Linked DNA regions of Homo sapiens: region 1 is linked to region 2. The links are contacts of gene promoters, found by promoter capture Hi-C in blood cells and fetal thymus (Javierre and others, 2016). All regions are on one chromosome and are shown on one strand. The core of a region is centred on a gene start or on the middle of the fragment in contact, and the rest is flanking DNA. Distances in the headings are between cores, read along the strand shown.

What was found. Contacts are between HindIII fragments. The CHiCAGO score rates a contact against its expected background, and 5 or more counts as called.
Region 1: a fragment that was not itself captured here is called in contact with the fragment with the promoter of FBRSL1 in region 2 in 1 of 17 cell types (total B cells); the score reaches 5.1 in total B cells.

What each region holds. Positions count from the first base shown.
Region 1 is chr12:132,074,229-132,078,856 of GRCh38, reverse strand. EP400 (E1A binding protein p400) reads right to left here. Exons shown (of 53, transcript NM_015409.5): 52 at 2,264-2,341; 53 at 1-1,456. The coding sequence ends at 1,184. Among named protein-coding and RNA genes, the nearest start is that of SNORA49, 45 kb to the right of the region's middle. The HindIII fragment of the contact is 1,529 bases long and covers 2,572-4,100 here.
Region 2 is chr12:132,488,759-132,493,446 of GRCh38, reverse strand. It overlaps FBRSL1 (fibrosin like 1), which reads right to left and starts at 3,296. Exons shown (of 19, transcript NM_001367871.1): 1 at 2,586-3,296. The coding sequence starts at 2,876. RefSeq lists enhancers at 862-931, 1,645-2,208, 4,206-4,335 and silencers at 3,366-3,815, 3,946-4,015. The HindIII fragment of the contact is 10,018 bases long and covers 1-4,688 here.

The sequences.
Region 1 (4,628 bases), core at 2,087-4,586, 410 kb after region 2:
GCAAATACTGGGCTTCGTTTTCCCCCTCAACGGCACGCCTTCCACAACAGCACAGGTGGTTCTCTGCTTCACTGGCAGAACCACACAAGCTTATCCTAGAGAAAATCTGCTGTCGTAAGTCCACAAGGAAGAGTTGACTGGGCCCACCGCTATAGCCAATACTTCCAGAATCACCAGCCCACCTTCGTCAAAGGGCTGACTGTGGCAGCAAGGGGTGTCTGTCACATTCGTCCTGGCTCACTGAGCCCAGGCCTCATCGTACCCTCAGCTGTGACATCTGTACTACCATTGCCTCTGCGTGGTCCTCTGGGCCTCACGCCAGCCATGGCAGAGTGTCCCAAAGGTTCTCAGGAGCTGTTTAACACACTATGTCAAATACCAGCTTCCCCCGAAAACTGGAGATGCGTCTTGAGTGCACTGAGTTGGGCATCAGTCCCAGAAGTTTCCATTAAATGAAAGCGAATCCCATTGCAGGGTAGGGCCTGGGGGAGGCCACTGTTGGCTGCTCTTTGGAATAACAATGCAATGACTGATCATTTCCCTTGAACACAGGCCAGGAACGTGCCTTGTGTGTTTAGGTGGGTGTCAGAACATTTCTCTTAAAAGTTAAGTCATATTTTAGGAGGGAAGGAAGGAACCATATTGCCTTTCTTTGGAATGGAAAACCCATCTCGGATGATTGACTTTAGACAGGCCTTCCCCTCTGCGAAGACCACGAGGCATTTTTCAGTAAGGTATAAAGAACTAAACTCTGGCAGACACTGTGGAAGCCCACGCCTTATCTTTAGAAAGTCCATTGTATGCTCCTCACACACGGCAGACGGCTTCTGTGGCGTGCAAAGCACTACATGCTCACAAAGAAATTCTAAATGGCTTTCAGAACACAGTACTATGGCTCTAGGGGACGGGTGCGGGTGGGGACTGAAAGGTGAAATGATTTAGAGGAAGCCATGTTGTCACTTTTTCCATGAGCCACGTAGTACAGAGAACGCGGCACTCCATAAGGACCATTTGTCCTGCAGTGTGGGATGCATTTTAATAAAATGATTACACTATTTTGTTTCAATTATATCTTTCCCAGTGCTGAATCTCTTGCGTGACATGGTCCCAAGGTTCACTAATAAAGCGTTTTCTGTGAGGAAGGTAGTTTTGCTTTAGATGAGAGGCAGCCCTGCTGCCCTGACTACTGGCACGGAGGCTTAGTAGGTGTCTTTAGCCTGACAGCAGGGACCCTCATCTGTAACTTGGGCTGCTGGCTTGGGCTGTCGGAGCTGGCGGGCACCTGGGCTGGGTTGGGAGCGCCTGGAGTCTGGAGCGGGGCCGACGCCGTGGTCACCACCTGCTGCTGAATGAGTTTCTGCTGAACCACCTGGGCAGTCGCGGTCACTGCAGGGATCATCTGCACCTGCTGCCCGGCCGCCGTCGCCTGCGTGAGCGCCACAGTCTGTGGAGAAGCCTGAGCCGAGAGAGTCAGAAAACACACATTGCCCAGGAAACTCAGTCCAGGGACAGGAAAATGGACGTTCTTTGGGATGGGGAGGACTCGAGAAACTTCACTGACTATGCTTTTATGACACGGAAGAATGACCAGTCACACAACAGTATGACCTCTGGTTTCCAATTAAACACAAGTGGAAAATTAAAAGATGGTTGCTTTTAGACTAACACCAGATGCCTCTTGGGAAAAGGGTGAGAGCTGGGTCAGGGACTGATTTTGTTGTTGTAGTAAAGCTTTTAATAGAGTTTGGTTTCTTGAAATCTATATGCCAGTGTGACTTTAAACAAAATTTAGAAAGTTTAAAGCACCGCTTTACATTTAAAGCACTGTGCTAAAGAGTCATATTGTGGAGCATCAGTGACAACAGTGAAAGCGCCTGAAGGGCTTCTGTGGGAGGCAAGGCCACTGTGCCCACAGCGCCTCTGCTCAAGGGCGGGCCCCGAGCGGAGCCTGCTTGCCTGAGGCCTGTGCCTCCCTAAAACCACAGGGCAGTGTCTGCGACTTGCAGGACACACCCGCGATGATCAGTGAATGAAGGGTCCTGGGAATGAGCCCAAGGTGAGGCTCCCTCAGTATGGCTGACACAACCTCTAAACGCTTGTTCACTCTTCTCATTATTAAGTGTATCTAGTTTTTCCCCTGAAGTTAATGTTTTTGTGTGTATCACAAAAATCAAAAGTGATTCCCTAATCATGACCTCAGATGAAAACAACCCATTCTCTGACCTGGGAAATGTGAGGTTTCCACTTTGTCTATGCGTCCTACCTGCTGGGAAGCAGAGGCAACTTGCTGGATGCTGGCCACGGGTGTTTGCTGTTGAACAACTTGAGGAAGTTTTGCAACCTTTGACAAAACAAAAAAAGCCAAACATACAATTCAAAGGAGTATGTGCACAAAAAGAGATTTTTCCTCCCTTTCTGTCCTCAGTTAATGCAAAAAACACAATGACCAGGTGACACAGAAGAGCAATTCTCGTAGTGTGCCCACCTGCAGCAGTGAGAGAGCAAGTCGTTCCACTGCATGGTGAGTCAACTGACTGCCTCCCCAATTTGCCATCACTCATCATTTAAGCTTATTTTTGGTCTCATATTTCAGACACATTTTTTCTTTTCACAAAAACGACTGCAAGTTTATATGAAAGAATCAGACTGAGGATGGTAAGTATTTGAGCGTCTTGTGAGTCCCAAGGGCTCTGCATATGACAGGCCTGGACGACGTTCCAGTAATGAGCTGTACAGTGCAGCTAGGGCAGCCAGCTGAAGTGGGGAACCCGGTGACGCACCAAGGTTTTGAGGCTGGTAATTTTATCATTTTTCTACATTCTTCTTAGTCATGATTGAGATCTGGCTATTTATAAAGCAACACTTTCCACCCAGTGCCCACTTTCTGTGCACTTGCTACTGCATGCATCTCCCGCTGTCTTGACGTAGTAAGAGGCTCTGGGCCACCTGTGTGTCCTATCAGCACCGTCATGGCGTGCACCCAGAACACAAGAGAGGCTCCAGCGTGGGCAGCTGCTGGGGGCCCTGATTTCAAGGGCCCTCCCTGCACAAGGCCCTCACGGACCCTGGTCTCTTGCTGGGTCCTGTTACTTACAGAAAACGGATGAAAATAATATTTCCCAAGATTATTCTGCGAAATATGTGAAATTACATGATTTACTCACACATGAACAAAGGTCGAAATAAATGTTAGTCCTTACTAAAATTAAAATCAATCAGAAGGCATTTACTAGTTTACTGTCACTTAAACAATTATAAATAAAATTCACTAAGATAAGTGCCCTGAGCGCCCCCTGTGGAACTGCTGGGAAACAAAGATGCAGCCGGTGCTCCAGGGCCCATCTCAAGACCACAATGGTCCAGGACTTACTTGGCACAGCACTGAAAATCCTGAGACGTCTTAAATAAAGCACTAGCAAGAAATCTTAAATGTACCAAGAAACCTGCAAAGAGTCAGGAACTGCCAGTCTCCAAACCTAAGCACAGGCGGGCATCACGAGTCACGGAGCAGAAAAGCTGCACAACCTCTGCCCGGGATCGCTGGCCACATGGAGACGCACCCCGTGATCTCCAGGGTCGCACAGGACACAGCTGACCAGACACCAGGTATAGGCCAGTTCTCGGTGGGGAGCTTGCAAAAGAGCCCCGTGCTACTGCCAGCTGCCATCCTGGAGGGAGACACTGTACCCACAAAGGTACCCAAAGGCTGCAAAGAAAGCATCCCCTTCCTCCAGTGGCATCTGTAAGAAAAGCACCTGCCCTAAGCCTCAGTGCCGGGGAGGAGAGAGGAGGAGACACAGATTCAGAGGCCAGGTGGGTAACACCTGAGAGCTGAGTGAAAGCCTGAGCCACACACCAAGCAGTGTTCCTGTGGCACCTGAAGGTGCCCGCGGAAGCAAAACTCCACCTTTGCCCCAGGCTGCGAGGGGTCCCCGCAGATGCAGCACATTTCAGACAGGGAAATCACCAGATCCAGAAAAACACCTCACTCACTCTGCGAGGCCTGGAAACAAGAGACTATAAACAAAGACCAGGCATTATTTGGGAACTTCTGAAAATAAAATAATAAATCATCAAGATAAAAATTCAACAGACAAGCTTTGAAGCAGATTTGACTTAACCAAGGGAAAAATGAGTGACTGAGGAGACAGAGCGAAAGACATGACTCAGAATATAGTACGACGAGACAAAGACACAGAAAATACAAAAGCTGCTGAGAGACCTGGAGGGCAGAGGAAGCAGGACAGGGGCAACACGTAAACAAACAGTGGCTGCTTATTTCCTAAAGACATGAGAGAGACTGCCCGAGATTCAAGAAGCTGGAGCATTGGAATGAAACTGCAAAACAACAAAGACAAAGACAACGTCTCGATAACAGGCAGACAGTGGGGGAGAGAGGTGACCCAGAACAACAAAGACAAAGACAACGTCTCAGTAACAGGCAGACGGTGGGGGAGAGAGGTGACCCAAAACAACAAAGACAAAGACAACGTCTCAATAACAGGCAGTCGGTGGGGAAGAGACAGGTGACCCTGGAAGAGAGAAACGCTGGACAGACACCGGCTCCTCTTCAACAACAAAAGCAGCCACAGTGAGGAAATGATACCGTGAATGCACTCAGAAAACAA
Region 2 (4,688 bases), core at 2,047-4,546:
TGCAGGCAGGCTGCACCTCCCCGGCAAGTCTACACCTGTGTTTGGTTGTTTATACCACTGCAGTGTCCCGCGGGCACAAGCCAGCCTCTGGGGTTACAAGGGCTTCCTCCAACTCCTGAGCGTCCCATCCTCCAGCATCCCAGAGTAGGAAGAGCCCTCAAGACGCGGGTGGGGGCAGAGGGACTGTGAGCAAAGGCGGCAGAGCCAAGGGCAGGCTGTGCCTCTGGGCTGGGTCCTGGTGGCCACATCTCCCTCGGTGTCCCGTGTGGGTGGCCTCGCAGGGCAGCGCCCGCTCACTCTAAGGCCGGACAGGCGTGGCACCCAGTGCTCCTTGCTCTTGCTCTGCCTCAATGGGGAGCCTCAAGGTCCCCATCTGTGGAATGGGGGCATCCAGCCCTCCTCGTGGGTCATTTGAGGAGTAAATGAGTTGATGTCTGTGAAAGGCAGCTCAGAACACTGCCTGATGGAGAGAATGCTTACTGAACCAGTCACTACTATTGATATAATTATGAATTATCTGAACTTTGGGGAAAAACCACCATACTTTGGCAAAAAATGTAGACAACCAAGAGACACGTATGGGATGATCACGAGGTTATGACTTGTGCAGAAGCCCCGTACTTTCCCAGGCAGGCTCCGAAGGGCAGAGGAAGGGACATGAAACCACCCTGGGGTGCTGTGGCTGTGTTAACGCCACGCAGCAGCAGACTTGTCTCACTATGACCTGAGGGGCCAGCTGGTCTAAGCCGAAGTCACCAAAACCCACTGAACCCACTGCCTGCAGGCTGGGGGCACGTGACCCTGCCAGAGCAGGTGGACAGCCAGTCAGAGCCGCTGCGGGCAAAACACGTGGGCCTGGGATTGGCCCTGGATCTCCTGAGTACAGTTCATCTCCTCACTCAGATTCCTGACACACGCATCTGGGGCACTTTCTACACATCGAGCTCTTCCCGGCACCAGACCCCATAGGAGACACACAGGACAGCACAGTGTCTGCTCTCTTTCAGCTTACAAGTTCTTGTGGGAGACGAAAATGGAGAGCAAAGACATTCTAAAACAGCTTTGCAGAGTGGGGATGACAAAAAGAAGGTGGGCAACGTCGACGGGGGTGGGGGGCACCACTTCAGAGGAGTCTGAGGTGACGTTTTTGCAAAGACACAATGGCACCAAACATAAAGCAGACAGAGAACGGCAGGGTACAAGGGCTGACCCGCTCGGAGCAGTGAGGAAGCCGCGGTTAGGGACCCAGGAGGTGCAGGTGGGTGGCGACAGCTCTGGAAAGTGGGCATCCTCGTGGTCTCAGCTGCAGTGCAGGAGCCGAGCGCAGGGCCTGGCTTGCAGTATTGCTCAGTACACGTACAGTCTGTGTCATTATCACCACTGAGAGGGCAGAAGACAGCCCCAGGGCCATCCCGTCCCAGCACAGAGCAATGGCGTGTGCCAGCCCTGGAGCCATCTAATAATGTGCAGGACAGAGGATGGCCAGCCTGTGTGATGAGCCTGGCCACCACCCACCCCGTCCTGGGCCCACAGGAGCCCCAGCTCTGTCCGTGCACTTGGGACACGAAGCCCCAGCTCTGACTGTGCACTCGGGACACGATGCGGCACCTGTTCTGGGGCCACTTCCCTGGCCACCGGCCCTGACCCAAGGCTCTCTACAGTCCCCAGAGTTTGGATGAGAACTTGAAGAGGACTTGCTGCTTCAGGGGCCTGCAGTAGGCATCTCCCCTTTTCCCAAAGCTCAGCTTCTGAGACTGGGGGATCCCAGGCCATGGGCTCCCAAGCCCCTGGAAAAGTGAGAGGGGTTGGAAATGGGGTGATTCTGGGAGTCAAAGTCCAGCAGATGAGGGTCCCCCAAAGTAAGTGCTGCACGGGGCACACCTCGCTGGGCGGGTCTCGGCCCTGGTGCAGGGCAACTTGCTAGCATTCCTGCCCATGCCAGTCCTGGGGAGACAGCGCCTGCCCCAACTCTCAGACAGCATTTAATTTCCTTCTCTGCTCAGCTGAGTTCATGTAAGAGGAGCAGTATTTGCTCAGCAAATACTGTCCGTCAGCCAGACAAGCAATATTTTTGGCCAATCTATTAACCATGCAGCAGGCAGCAGTCACCAAGAGGGGTCTTGAGATTAACCCTCCTTCTCCCCTTCTCAGCAGAGCCCTCGAAGGGAGGAGGGAACGGGATGGCCCGCGGAGTATCCATTTTATCACCACCTCCCTAAGATCCAGCACTGCTCCCTAGCACGTCCTGAACCAGGCAGAGCGATATGCTGGCCACAGAAACACAACTGATAAAAGGCCGACGGTGCTGTCAGACAGCCCCCAATTTCGAAGCGTAGATTTTTTTGCCTCTGCAACTTAAAACGTCCCCAAACCCACCCGACGCTGCTGGGTCTTCCAGATGCGACGGTCTGGGCGAGCGGTGGGCACCCAGGGTCCCTGGAACGGGTACCAAGTGGCCGGGGCTTCCCTCAGGGCTGCCCACGGCGCGGGCGGTCGCAAGCCCAGGGGTCCCGGGATCGCCCGACGCGTCAACTCCGGGCCCCGTTCTCGCCTCAACGCCTGCGAAGCCGCACCCGTCCACCTACCTCCAGGGCCTCCAGGGTGCTGAAGCTGGCGATGGCGAAGCCGTCGATGACCTCCTCCTCCTGCGAGCTGGACTCGCGGCGGCGGCGGCGCGGGGGACGCGCGGTGCGGGGCGCGGGGGCGGCGCCTCGGGGGGGCGCGCCGCGGAGGCCCGCGTTCTCCTTGCCGGGGCTGGGCTCGGGCTCGTCGCCCGACGACGGACTCTGGGCGCGGGCGTCGCGGGCGGCCTCCCGGCGCCGGCCACGGTCCCGCTGCGCGCGCGAGCGCCGGCTCGGGCGGACCTTGGCCTCCATGGCCGCGCGTGCGCCCCGTCGGGCCGGTGACCTTGACGCCCCGCGCCTGGCTCGCAGCAGGCGGGCTCCCTCGGCTACGCGGCGCCGCCGGGCTGAGTGTGCGCCGCGCGGGCTCGGGCCCTGGGCGGCGGCGGGCGGCGGGCCGGGCCGGGCATGCCGGGCGCGGGGGGCGGCTCAGCCCCGGGCCCGGCGCGGCCTGGGACCCCCGGCGCGGGCGGCTGGGCGCATCGGCGGGGGCGGGCCCGGCGCTCAGCGGCCCTCGGCCGCCCCCCCGGGGGCGCGCCCCATGCGCGCGGCGCGGCGATCGGGCCGAGCGGGCGGGGCCGGGCGGGCGCGGCAGGCGGCAGGCGGGAGGCGGCCGGGCTCCTGGGCACCGGGCTCGTGAGGCGGCGGCGGCGCCCCGAACAGATAACAACTGACGCACTTCCGCCCGGCTGCGCTCGCCAGAGGAAGTGAGGGCCGCCGCGGGCGCCCGCGCGCCCCGCCCCGACCACGCCCCTGCCCCGCCCCGCTCATAAGGCTCCGCCCCCACCCCGCACACGCGGCCCGCCCCGCTCACAAGGCTCCGGCCCCTCCCCGCCCCATTCACGCAGGCCCCGCCCCCCGCAGGCTCCGCCCCCTCCCCGACCCGCTCACGCAGGCCCCGGCCCCGCCCCTCCCGGGCGCTCCCGCTAATTCAGGCCCCGCCCCACCCGCAGGTGCCCGCCCTTCGACCTCGCCCCCTAGCCGCGCCCCTCCCCGGCGCCCCGACCTCCGCTGCAGCCGGCGGTGATCCGCTCGGCTCCTTCCTGGGAGGGCGCTGGGATGCCGCGGCCCCTCCGTGGGCACCTGCGGGCGGCGCTCTCCAAGCGGGAGGCGGGGGCAGCGCCGCCCTCCTCTGCGGGACTGGGGTCCCCGGCCGCGGGCGGCTTCCGAGGAGGACGAGGGGCCTCCGGTCTCGCGGAACCGAAGTCCTGCCCTCGGCGAGCGTGGAAGGGACGGGGAAGGGGCGGGGAGGACCGGGGGAGGGTCCTCGGCCAGGCGGTGCCCCCTCCCCGCGTCCCCGCGGACCCTCCCAGGCCTCCTAGGATGCGGGAGGGGTCTGTCCGCGTCCCCGCCCCGCGCCACGTGCCCCCAAGTCCCACAAGAAGGCGGCTCCCGCCACCGAGACCCCCGGGAACGCGCCCAGCGAGGCGGGGGCTGCTGCCAGACACGGAGCGCAGTGTGGAGGGCGGCGCGGGCAGGAAGCGCACGGAGGCGGCTGCGGTTGCGAGGCAGGCGCGGGGCGAACTTCCTCCTCCACCCCCAGGACAGGCCGAGCTCGGAGGGGCCCGCCTGGTGGGGTTTTCTGAGCCCAGGGGCCCCTTGCGCGTGGGCACTGGAGTCATTGATTCATGCAGCGCGTATTTGCCAGATGCCTCCTGTGTCCAGGCTCTGTTGGTGACCCCGCAGCGGCTGAGATAGACTACCCTCTTAGAAGTGGGAGAGAGACCCTGAACACAGGGCCAAATAGAATATCAGCCAAGGATAATCTGAAGAAAATCGAACGGGGAGGTGTCACAGAGAGTGGGCATTGGGTGGTCCAGAGGGCCTCCCCGAGGAGTGACGACTCCGAGCCCCAGCAGTCATGGGCACCCTGTTTCAGGTCGGGGCTACACCCCTGCACAGGCCCTCGGAGAAGAATGGTGGTTTGCTGGAGGGCGGAGGGGAGGGTGCCCAAGACAGTGGTGGGACCCTGCCCTCGGTTGCCCTTAGTGGGAACGGGTCCTCGCCCACTCTGCGGGGTCCACTTTACCCTGCCTCTGGGAGAGCCTACTGGCGGCCTCTTGTGCA